2 separate regions of the Homo sapiens genome follow, and region 1 is linked to region 2. Evidence: promoter capture Hi-C in human tissues and cell types (Jung and others, 2019). All regions are on one chromosome and are shown on one strand. The core of a region is centred on a gene start or on the middle of the fragment in contact, and the rest is flanking DNA. Distances in the headings are between cores, read along the strand shown.

What was found. Contacts are between HindIII fragments. The study calls those that stand out against the background at their distance.
Region 1: a contact is called between the fragment with the promoter of DLC1 here and a fragment that was not itself captured in region 2, in 2 of the 25 tissues and cell types used here (aorta and heart right ventricle).

Annotation. Positions count from the first base shown.
Region 1 is chr8:13,512,135-13,518,164 of GRCh38, forward strand. DLC1 (DLC1 Rho GTPase activating protein) reads right to left here and starts at 2,717. Exons shown (of 18, transcript NM_182643.3): 1 at 2,468-2,717. The HindIII fragment of the contact is 7,641 bases long and covers 1-4,442 here.
Region 2 is chr8:13,114,127-13,119,982 of GRCh38, forward strand. It overlaps DLC1 (DLC1 Rho GTPase activating protein), which reads right to left. Exons shown (of 18, transcript NM_182643.3): 6 at 1,460-1,531. Among named protein-coding and RNA genes, the nearest start is that of TRMT9B, 170 kb to the left of the region's middle. The HindIII fragment of the contact is 5,196 bases long and covers 1-5,164 here.

The DNA of each region.
Region 1 (6,030 bases), core at 1,467-3,966, 400 kb after region 2:
TCATTCCAATAATGTAGAGTGTGGTGACATTGAAAGGAAGTGTTGAATAGTGTCTCTTTTAAGTAGTAATAACATCAGGAAACTCAATCTGGTCATGAAAATGGAAAAAAAAAGTATCGTGACACATTCTCTCTAAGGAAATGGCAGCTATTAGAAATGGAATGTGTTACATTTATGAGAAAGGGTCTTGTCTGAGAAGGTATACTGCTTCAGCACACACAGCAACAAATATTGTCATATATGAAGTATGATGCAGATGAAATAGCCCACGCTCCCATTTTATACCACGTTGTTCAGACATTTATTTATATACTGTAAAAATTCTGCATTCTACAATTAAATGACTTTGTAGAAGGCTTAGAGCAGACATACAAATCAATTAAGGGATTGCAAACATGCTGGAGAAATGTAAACATATTTTTTATATGTCAACTTAGGCTTTTTATATATTTAGTGAAAAGACCCACATAGAACTTGAAATAAGCTACAGCAACAATGATTTAGGCTAGATAGAAGAAAGGATGCCTGGGGGTGGTGCTGTAAAATTGCCTCTGAAAGTCATTGGTTGGGACAGTTTCATTATGATCATTTGAGTACAAGGATATAAATTAGAAAAGCTGTTTTCTAGCCCTATTTTTAAAGAAACATCAGATTAAAATTAATATAATTATTAGCATATGGATTGATTTTCTTGACATAAACATCAAATATAATAAAATAGTCATAAAGCAAGTTACTACTGTAAAGTGTTTATTGAAGGCATACTGATTTGATTTTTTTTTAAAGTTAGGATTTTTTTCCCCACATAATTAACATTGGTGACAGTTTTACCTTTTTTTTTTTTTTTTTTTAAATTAGAGGAACTGCAAATTTCTGTCTGCAAAGCACCCTTCTACTGGACATGTTCATACTTCATTATGCATAATTATTATGGGAGGGCAGGATGATGGGATAAAAAGGTATCTGAATTATGAATCAGGGCACTGTGGTTCTGCTGTCCTCTCTTCTATTAGCTAGAGGTGTGACCTTGGACAGGTCACTTTTAAATCCCATTTCTCAGCTTCTTGTAGACAACCTCAAGCCATTGTTAGAGGAGACCATCTCTTATGTTCTTTCCTTCTCTGAAATTCCATTTGGAGATTTTAATTAAATCATAATTTAGATAAGTCAGTATTTTATCTTCCACATATATAAAAAGTAGATTCTTTTTCTCATATTTAAGAAGTTTTAACACAAATTGTCAGTGAATAGTTAAAATTTATCAATATAAGTTATTCTAGCATAAAATTTGAGAATAGCTAATATAGCAGATGGTCACCTTGTACTATATAAAAACTTATAATGAAAACAGTTACTTCATTTCTTATGATCCAACTGTCAAAATAGCTCTCCATCTTTCACTTAGTATATTTTGTATTCATCTAATAGATTTGAAAATGTACATGAATATTTCTTCCCTTTATGTACCATTTTATTTCTATAAAATGATGAATTTTATTATAAATATTCAGAAATATAACAGTATCTTATGCATTATAAGTCCACACTTTTTCGGTCATTACTAAACTTCTTTTCTAATATATTGTACATTTAAACATTTAAGATTACCTTGAAGAGACTACAGTCAGGTGGAAATGTAATTTTACGATTACATAAGTAAGGACACAAACAGTTTCCATATGACTGGAGTGATTTCTGGCTGCCTTAAAAGAGTTATAATGAGTGTCAGTGTCATTGAGATTGACTTCAGTTATTCAAAATATTACACAAAATGTGACCGGAGCAAGCAGTGAATCCAGGAAAATTAATATAAACTAAATTCGATTCCGACATTTAAATTTCCAAAACTCAGATTAAATACTATTTAGGACAGAAATAATTCCTGAAATTTCACGTGTTTACTTTTTTTTTTTAAATGAACCTTTTAAGCTGTACAGGAGAAGCTTGACATATGATTGAAACTGGCTTGGGTAAAATAATAAGAAATTCAATCTTCGTAGTTTTAAATGAGACACAAAATACTCTTTGGAGACTGATTATTAAGCACAAGTCACTCGGGTGCTTTCTACTCTCCCTGTTGGCAAAGGAAGGTAGGGGAGGAATTCATTTACACCTCACACTGATGTGTGAGAAAATGTATTTGTTTCACGTTATGCCAAGAAATAGGAAAACTGATCCGACAGCTCAATTAATAAATAAGTTAAACGTAAAAAGGGATAAAAATAAAATCTTACTTTATGGAGGAAAAGAGTTAAATCTATATGGAGCCTGTTTTAGAACTGACAGTTTGCTAAAACGAATTGACTCAGAATTTTCTACTTATCAAACATTTTCCACTTCTGATTTTATGGCTTTGCTCTAAAACCTAGGAAGTCACCAACTCCGTGCAAGATGCTAACATTTATCTCAATCTTTCTGCCTCTTCAAAGACCGCCTCAAAGCATAAAGATAGTCCATAGCGTCTTACCTAGACAACGAGGAGCTGAAACGCCAAGGCATGACACTGCTCAACACTCAGGCTAGGAAAGAAGTCCGTCCCCGTTAGTTTCTCCAAAATCTAAGTTCCCATTTCGTGGTTGAGATCATGGCTCTATTCTGAGCAGTTTCACGCAGTGTGTGAGTCTAACAAAAACACCCTCTGCAGCTGGAGGGAGCCTTAGCTAAGGCAGGATCCTGTCAAGGCATTCCTAGTGACTTCTGTCTACTAAATTCAGACTGAGGTTTTGCAAAAGGGGCCTCCACAACCAGGCCCAGATTGCCTGGAAAGTATTTCCTGCCTCTGAGGAGTGTGCATGCTAGAAAGGCTGTACGAAGAGAGGGGAGGAGGGGAGAGCCCAGCCGCCTGGGCGTTTTAGGAGTTCTGATTTTACACAGAACTCAAGTGAGTTTTGTCAAAGCTCTTGAGGTGATTAGCTGTAGAGTCATAAAGTCCTAGAGCTTTTTCTATCCCACACTGCTTATGAAAAAAGAAAGAAAGAAAGAAAGAAAACGTAGTTTTCTCTCTATCCACAACCTTTCCACTATATTAAATGTATATGCACAGCTTAATCAAAATGCCTGTGCTTGCTCTCATTTCAAAAGATCTTTTAAGAGAGCAAGATGAATTTAGCCTTAATACCATAATTCTTCTAAATGGCAAAACCTTTTTTGAACATGACTTAAAATTGGAAATGCTGCAGCTTTTCATTCTGTCCCTGAGACCATCTGTAAGTAAAATCCCAAGCATCCAGTTAATAGAACGATTTCTTCCAGATCTCTCTGATCACAAGAATCCTTCACAGAATTAAAATAGTTCGTGTTATGGCAAATGCAGCAGCGCATTACCTCTAGTCAGAATCCTCCAGTTACAAAAATCCAGTGCTGGAGCAGAAGACAGGCTCCATCTTGATCGTATTAGAGTCTTGCTGACATTAAACACTTACAACTGCTTCCATCTAGCATGGCAGCGTTCCTGAATCACATCTCTAAAGCCGCTCATGGTATCTGCATCCTTCGTCCGTCACAAATTTTGTGAACTATCATCTGTTTATCTTTTCTGCTTTCTTGTGCCTCCCTTGAATGACTTCCTCCTAGCTGCTCCAGGTTGGGAATTTGGACTACCATTTGGTTTTGATTAAAACCAGACAGGCAACTCTGGAGAATTTAGGGAATAAGCTAATGGAAACTGCAAGTATGGCTTTAATTAGTGCATCAATTAATAATAGATGTTAGCTCGTCTTATAATAAGATATCACAAATACAAACACAGAGGAAGCTGAAGTCGTTTCAGGAAAAAAGTTACACCAATTTTCCTTCCTTTATGACCCAGAATCCTCTTTAGAGAATGTGGAAGGAAAGAAGAGGGAGGTGGTTTTGGGACATCCAGGCTGTGGAGAGGCCAGTAGAGCAGCTTCATTGTTTATACCAGGGAAGCAGGAAACAGCATCTCTGACTTTAATTATCTTGCTTGGTGGAAATGGCTCAGTCATGTCTCCCTTCTACTTTATTTACAATCAATGGATTTCGCTGCTATTTATGACTCAAGCATTTTTTTGGGGGGGGACTGATGATCAGATTAATTATTAGGTCTATCTGCTTCTTGCAAATTTCTAGAAGCTTTCAATAATAGGAAGTGCAAGAATAATTCCAGTTGGATGTGATAAAATGAGTAACATATAAAGAGGTAAAAGACATCTTAAACTTGTTGGCCCTAAGATCTATCCTGTTCTTCTCTGAAATTGTAAGTAGTTTTCATTGTTCACTGTTATTCTCCATCCCTGTATATCACAAGGGCTATCTTGTAGTACTTTTTGATAATATTGGGTAGGTGATAACTCAAAGATGCACAAGGTTCTAACTACTATTTTTTTCCTTATTAGGTAGCTAAAATCTCTCAAAGTTAATGCAAATCATGAACCATATTAGACCCATGTTAGATGGCAAGAATGACTTATACTGTGCATGAGTTTGAAGATGAGAAGTAGTCAAATAAAAACGTTTGGTCAGAAGCAGCTTTAAAAGTTTAGATCAAAGTCTTATTGACTAAAAACATGAGCATTTAGGTTTCTTTAATTTAATCTTCAACCATAGGCCAAGAAAGAAGTCTGTTCTTCCATAAATTCTTTAAAAAGTATTTATATTTATATTCAAAGTGTTTCTACTGACAGTATGCCTATTTAATCTTTCCAACAATTTTGCGTGTATTCATATGTTTTATTTTACAAATAAAGTATTGAGAAGCAATTTTCTCACAGTCAAATGATACAAAGTGCCCAGGTCCACACTGGAACTCAGATATTCTAGCTCCAAGCTTTGTGCTTTAATTTTTTCTCCATAAACTGCCTTCCTTGACTTCCACTTAATTTCTTTATTAAATTGGGAAGACTTCTTAAACTCTAATAGTTTCTCTTTAAAAATAGAGACAATTTCACATAACTTATAGATTGGAAAGCAGGATGAAATTTATATGCAGAAATATTTGTGTATTTATGTTTATTTCCCTAAGAAAAACACTGGAGAAGAAAGGAATGAGAACTGATATTATGTCTTTCCTAATATAACTTGATATCTCTATCTCTGTCACTGCCTTTAGTACTGATATACAGTGGTTACTCAATATTATATCAGCATCATGCTAATTCTTAGCTACATTTTATTCATGAATACTGTACCCCGCGCCATATACTTTAGTTTTGTTTCTATTTCTATTGGCTTGGGAAAACAAGAAAACTCTGTTCACAAATGCCTTTTAGATATCTAGAAACTCTTGTTAGTAAGTTTCTCATAAACATACCCTTTTCTACACAAAAAATACATTATGTTTTCTTCTATTAATAGGATTACTTCCCAAATCTTTAATTACTTATATTTATTTTTCATTGTTGAGTTGCTTGATTCCAAACAAATCTCAGATCTTATAGTCTTATAAAGGCTTTACCAAATATGAGTGTAAAGATAAATAGTGAGAAAACTTCCTAAGTACTTAGTATTGTGTCAGGAACACTGAAGGAGTTCAAAATATTTGTCCCCTTCTTTCTACTTGCAAATCTAAATACCAACTTCCTTAAATGTTTGACTGTTACTCTGTACTGGATCAGCTAATCAAATAAGGGGACAGGGACAGTTAAGAACTTGAAAACAAAGTATCAGGATAGGAGTCTGCTCCAAAACTAACAGCTTTTGTGACCTGTGTGAGTTACCTAACCGGGGTGAGGATGTCTTAGCTTCCATAACTAAGAATTGTCACAATGCAAAAAGCTAGTCCATATAAAGCCATTAGCTAGAATTATTTTTACCACTTAAATTATTGCCTTTTTTAATGTTTACATCTCTCTTTCAGGTATTTTTAGAATCTTTCTCTCTCTTCTATTGAACTCCAAGTTAAATGTATACATGTGAAACCGTTATAGTGGTGGAACAATTATGTACTCTGTGGAAAGAAGAATAGCAGGAGGTGGATTAAATGGTATTTTAAAGATCACCTTTCTTTTTTTTGTTTTTGTTTTTGTTTTTGAGACAGAGTCTGGCTCTGTTGCCCAGGCTGGAGTGCAG
Region 2 (5,856 bases), core at 1,317-3,816:
CAAGGTGGGTGGATCACCTGAGGTCGGGAGTTCACGACCAGCTTGGCCAACATGGTAAAACCCCGGCTCTACTAAAAACACAAAAATTGGCCGGGCATGGTGGCACATGCCCATAATCCCAGCTACTCAGGAGGCTGAGGCAGGTGAATCGCTTGAACCCGGGAGGCAGAGGTTGCAGTGAGCCAAAATCACACCACTGAACTCCAGCCAGGGCGACAGAGCGAGACTCCGTCTCAAAACAAATAAATAAATAAATGAACAGCCTATTTATCTTGACATGCAGGGAGCACAAGCACTCCCCAGGGTACGCAGAAGCTGAGAGAATGACCTCAGTATCCAAGCAATCCCCAGGGCACTGATAAGAAAATGAGATGTTAAGAATTCAGCACAGATCCTATTTTTTTTTTTGAACCATTTTTCTCAATTGAAAAACTGAATGCCACAGAAAACATAATATTCATTAAAAGACAACCTAGAGAAAAGTGAAATGCCTAATTACAAATGGTGGGAAAGATATCTGCAACACGTGACCAATGAAAGATTAGTATTTAGAATAAAAAGAGCCCTTATAAATCATTAAGAGAAGCATAATGTGAGCAAACAAATGTGGCCGAGTGACATGAATAAATGCTCATTACCATGAAGGATTAGGGAAATGGCAGTCAAAATCTCTATATCATTTTATATCCATTTGGTTGGCAAAAATTAAAGTCTGACAATATCAAGCGTTGAGGGAATGTGGATACACAGATTGGTAAGAGTGAAAATTGGTACGGGCACTTTCGAAAAGCTTGCATTTTAAAATTGAACATACATATTCTTTATTACCCAGTAATTCTGTTCCTAGGGATAGAAGCAAGATGAATCATTATGCATGTACCACAAAAGATAGATGCAAGAATGTTCACAACAGCACAGCTTATAAAAGCAAAACAGAGAAAGCCAAAATACCCACCAACCAGAGTGTGGATATGAATAAACAGTGGTTTCTTGTGTAATACACAATGGTGTATTACACAGCAGCCAAAGCAAATGCATAACAGGCCCATACAGTATAGAAGAATCTTAACAATACAATATTAAGTGAAAAATAAAAACCCCATGAAATTACATACGACACACTACCCTTTTTATAAACGTAAAAATTACTTTGTAAAAATGTACTTTTCAGGAAATGGAGTAGAATTATACAAAAAGAAAGCAAGAAAATGATAGTCTTCAGCATGCTGATTACTTTGGGTAGGGAGTGGCAGGCAGCAGATGGGGGAGTGGCATGGGCGTGTTACCAAGGTGCTAGCTTTTGTTTTCAGCGGTGGGGGTCTTGCATGCTTACAACATTTTTTTTAAAAATAAAACATTTAAACGATAAAACTGCTGAAAATAAGTCATAGATCAGTAATACTCGCGAACAAGGGATTATGATTATGCCAACTTTTAAAAAGTGGCATTCCCAGCTTACCTTCATAAAGCTGTGCATACTGGGGGAAACCAGTTGCCCGTAGCCAATCACAAGCTTCCTTGGCTTCAATTTCTAGAACAGAACAGAAGAAAGACAAAATTAGCCATGTGTACCTCGCCATGCTTATTTTTCCTGAATAAGCTTTCGTTTTATGATACAAGCAAAACATGACTGCCATAGAAAATACAGATAAGCAAACAGACATACACGCTTAATTCGAATGGTTTACATTTTGTATGCATCGTTTCCAGTTTTTTCACGTGTACATGAGGATGTATTTTCCCTTTACAAAAAATAGAAATGGGGTCCTGAGAGTAAGTTTCTCATTTTGTGCTGCTTCTGAAGTGCTCTGATTACAAACGGTTATGAAAATAAGGCATCATGAGAAAGTTGAAGAGAGATTTAATAACTCATTTGAAGCCTGGCCGGCCTATTGTACTACTTTTCACTTCAACAAAAGGCCACAAAGTACCTCCACCACCACGCTAAAATAGAATTTATCTGAGTAAAGTCACAGGCTTTCTGACACCCAGGGGTTGGGTGTTTCAAAAGCCCCTGACCTTGTGTTGTTTCACTGTTGCGTGATCAGGTACTCATCAGGTATTAATCCAGTAGGAGAGGCCCAGGCTGTCAAGGAACATGGAGGGCACGAAGTCAGTAAATCCCACAATCTTGGCAGGCAGAAATGGCTAATAAAGCTTCTACCTCCCTGTGGTTTCACATCTTGTAGATAGAATCGATAAACAGAAAGGCCAAGAGCAACTGACACACTGTGTTAAAACTCACTGGAGCACATATTTACAATCCCGTTAAAACTGACTCACAGAGGAGGTCCTGGGAACATTAGTTAGTGTCTCTGCTTGCACAAAGAATATTCCTTTCAACTCTTCCTCCCACCTTCCTCAGGCCATGAGAGTACTCAGTTACACAAGTCTGTTCACTCATTTATAAAGGTCTCAACATTGCATAATTTATGCCAGATTCAAATCTTCATTAAGCATCTCTCTCAAGCAAGTGGGAGACTAATAGTTCATATCAGAAGTGTAACACATCTTATTTTTGTCTAGTAACTTTATGTTTTCAAAGCACTTTTTCACCTATTATTTCCTGAGTTCCTTGGCCTTTGAAGAAAGGTAATTAAGCAAATCCAAATTCATTAAAGCAAGTGGGAATTTGATCAATGAACACAGGAAAGAGAAAAAAAATAACCTGCCATCTCCTGATGAGTTCTTAATACCCAAACTAAAAACGATTATGGCAGTAGCCTGGAAATAAATAGCATGGCAAAGTTAACTTCATGAATCTTTTCAGTGCAGCAGTGAAAGTAGCATTATTCAACCCAAGACTTAGGACCGAAATGGGAGCGAATGATAGTGACATCAGTGTGGAAGAACTTCGATGTTTACACTGAATAAAAGTGTAGAATTGTCCAAAGTCAATTATTTGAGCTTACTTTTTTTTCGTATGTGTATATCCACATTTTGTCTCAGCAAGGAAATAAAGATGTTTTAAATAAAATTATAAAATAGACACTTCCTAGAAAACTATATTGCTGGAAAAACATATACAAGCTCAATATTTTATTTTAAAAAACAAGGAAATTAGACTGGGTGTGGTGGCTTGCGCCTATAATCCCTGCATTTGAAAGGCTGAGGTGGGAGGATCATTTGAGCCCAGAAGTTGAAGACCAGCCTGGGCAACATGGCGAAACCCTGTCTCTACCAAAGAAAAAAATTACAAAAATTAGTCAGGTGTGGTGGTGTGCTCCTGTAGTCCCAGCTACTCTGGAGGCTGAGGTGGGAGGATTGCTTCAGCTTGGAAGGCTGAGGCTGCAGTTAACCTCAATGGTACTACCACACACCAGCCTGGGCAACAGAGTAAGACTCTGTAACCGCTAAAAAAAAAAGAGGAACTTACTTTTGCCCTATCTGTGTGCCTGCCCCCTCCCACAAAACATAGATATGGAAAGAAAAAAGGCTGTTTGTCTTTAAAAATATTTTAAAAACTCATTTCATTTGGCTACTTAGAGGTTATTTTCATTGAACAGACTGTTAGACATTGAACAATAGATTGTTAAAAAGTAAATGTGCTTGCTTTCTTAATATTTAACTTAATAAGTGGTGAGTAACCAAAAATTCTCAGTGCCCGCCCTTTTTTGACGATAGTCAGACACGGCAGTAGGTGAGCCCACATACAAAAGCCTTAATTAGATACCAATTCACTAGCCAATCCTGCCAGAGCATGCTCCTGCTTTACTAAGAGAAATAGTTTCATGCCAAGAGGCATGGAAGATGTAAGATACTAGTTTTTTAAGCAATCTTTATATTTTTTATATAATAACTTTACAAAGTATTTATTTAAGGTCCCATGTGATTTCAGCAACACAAAAATGCATATTCCTGTCTTCTTGTTCTCTTTCTTTTTTTTTTTTTTTTTTTTTTTGAGACAGAGTCTTGCTCAGTCACCTAGGCTAAAGGGCAGTGTTATGATCCTAGCTCACTGCAGCATCGACCTTCCGGGCTCAAATGATCCTCCCACCTCCGCCTCCCAAGTAGCTGAGATAGAGGCAGGAGCCACTGTGCCTGGCTGTCTCTCTTATTTTCTAATGGCCCTGTCTAACAAATAAAATGACTCCAAATGATCATAAACTGATCAGAAAAGCTGTGTCAAAATAGTCACTCTTAGGGCCACTTAGTTAGAAAGAATGTAAACAGGCAAAGGTTTGCTTCTTCAGCAGATAATTTAATTAACAGTTTATACAATGGCTAAAACACAGTACTCCCCAAACAGCAGAGATCTAGTCATCTTATCCTTTCTCTTCTTCACCCTAAAAAAAAATGACAATTTGTCTTTCCTTTTGATATGAAACCATGGGAAATAGACAAGCATATGACTATTTTACCAACACAAAGAGTCCACTCTGAAAACTTAGGCTGCATTCAAATGAGACCCTAACCCACTGCTTTGTAGAAATCAGAATTGGAAAACTGTAAAAAGTTGTCACATATTTTTTAGAAAATGGAATACTTGTTGACCTCACGCCTACACTTTCCAATTCATAGGTCAAGAGAAAGTACTAACAATCCAATGTACGTACTGATTTTTAAAAATCAATTATTTTTATTTTTTTAATGTGAAATGAACCTATATCTACATGCGAGTCACACAGTTTCATTCCCCGATTCACACCATTACTTTCTCTCTAATCTAAGTATTAATAAAACTCTGGGTCTGTAAACAACCCTCTCTTAAGAGAATCTGTCCATCAATCCTGGCTCATCAAACTTTCTGAGTTACAGTATTAATCTTCTCTCTCCTTCACAAACTTCGCTGGAGCTCCACGTGTAAAGAATGAGGTCTTAGCTCTGTGCGGTGACTCACGTTTGTAGTCTCAGCACTTTGGGAGGGAGAGTTGGGTGGACTGTTTGAGCCCAGGAGTTCAAGACAAGCCTGAAGAACATAGGGAGACCCCATCTCTACATAAAATACAAAAATTAGCCAGGCATGGTGGCACATGCCTGTTGTCTCAGCTACTTGAGGGGCTGAAGTGGAAGGACCTACTTGAGCCAGAGGTGGAGGCTGCAGTGAGCTGTGACCACACTACTGCATTCCAACGTGAGCAACAGGGCAAGACCCTGTCTAAAAAAAAAAAAAAAAAAAAATAGGTCTAAACACCCTGGCAAGGTTTTCAAGGCTCTCCACTTGGCATCCAACCTAATTGTTCAGCTCCCTGTACCCAAGCACTCTAGCCAAAGTAAATTTGGTGCTCATCTCCACACACACTGCACTTCAGTGAATTATCTGGCCTGAAATGCTGAAGATGAAATTTCACTCATCCTTCAAGATCCCAACTAAATGCCACCTCCTCCATGCAGTCTTCCCATTTACCTCTCAACAGTTCTATATCAATGGGTCACTTTACTGAGTGCTTAATACGCATAAGGCCCTGTCTAAGCGCTAGTGCATATTAGTTCATTTACACCTCACATTGATCCTAAAATGTGGATTACTAATATCTCTGAGATAAACACATGAGGAAACAGATAGAGAAGTAACCACCTCTCCTTAAAAATGAGCTTTCTGAGGCCAAGCGAGGTGGCTCACACCTGTAACCCCAGCATTCTGGGAGGCCTAGGTGGGAGTATCATTTGAGGCCAGGAGTTCAAGACCACTCTGGGCAATAATTGCGAGACTTCATCTCTACAAAAAATATAAAAAGAAAAAAGAGCTTTCTGCCTGTATTCGCAGCTACTCAGGAGGCTGAGGTGGGAGGATTGCTTGGGCCCAGGACTTCAAGACCAGCCTGGGCAATACAGTGAGACTCTATCTAAAAAAAAAAAAAACTTATAAAAAAATTTTTAAAAATGAGATTTCTACATTCAAATGCCATAGTGAGA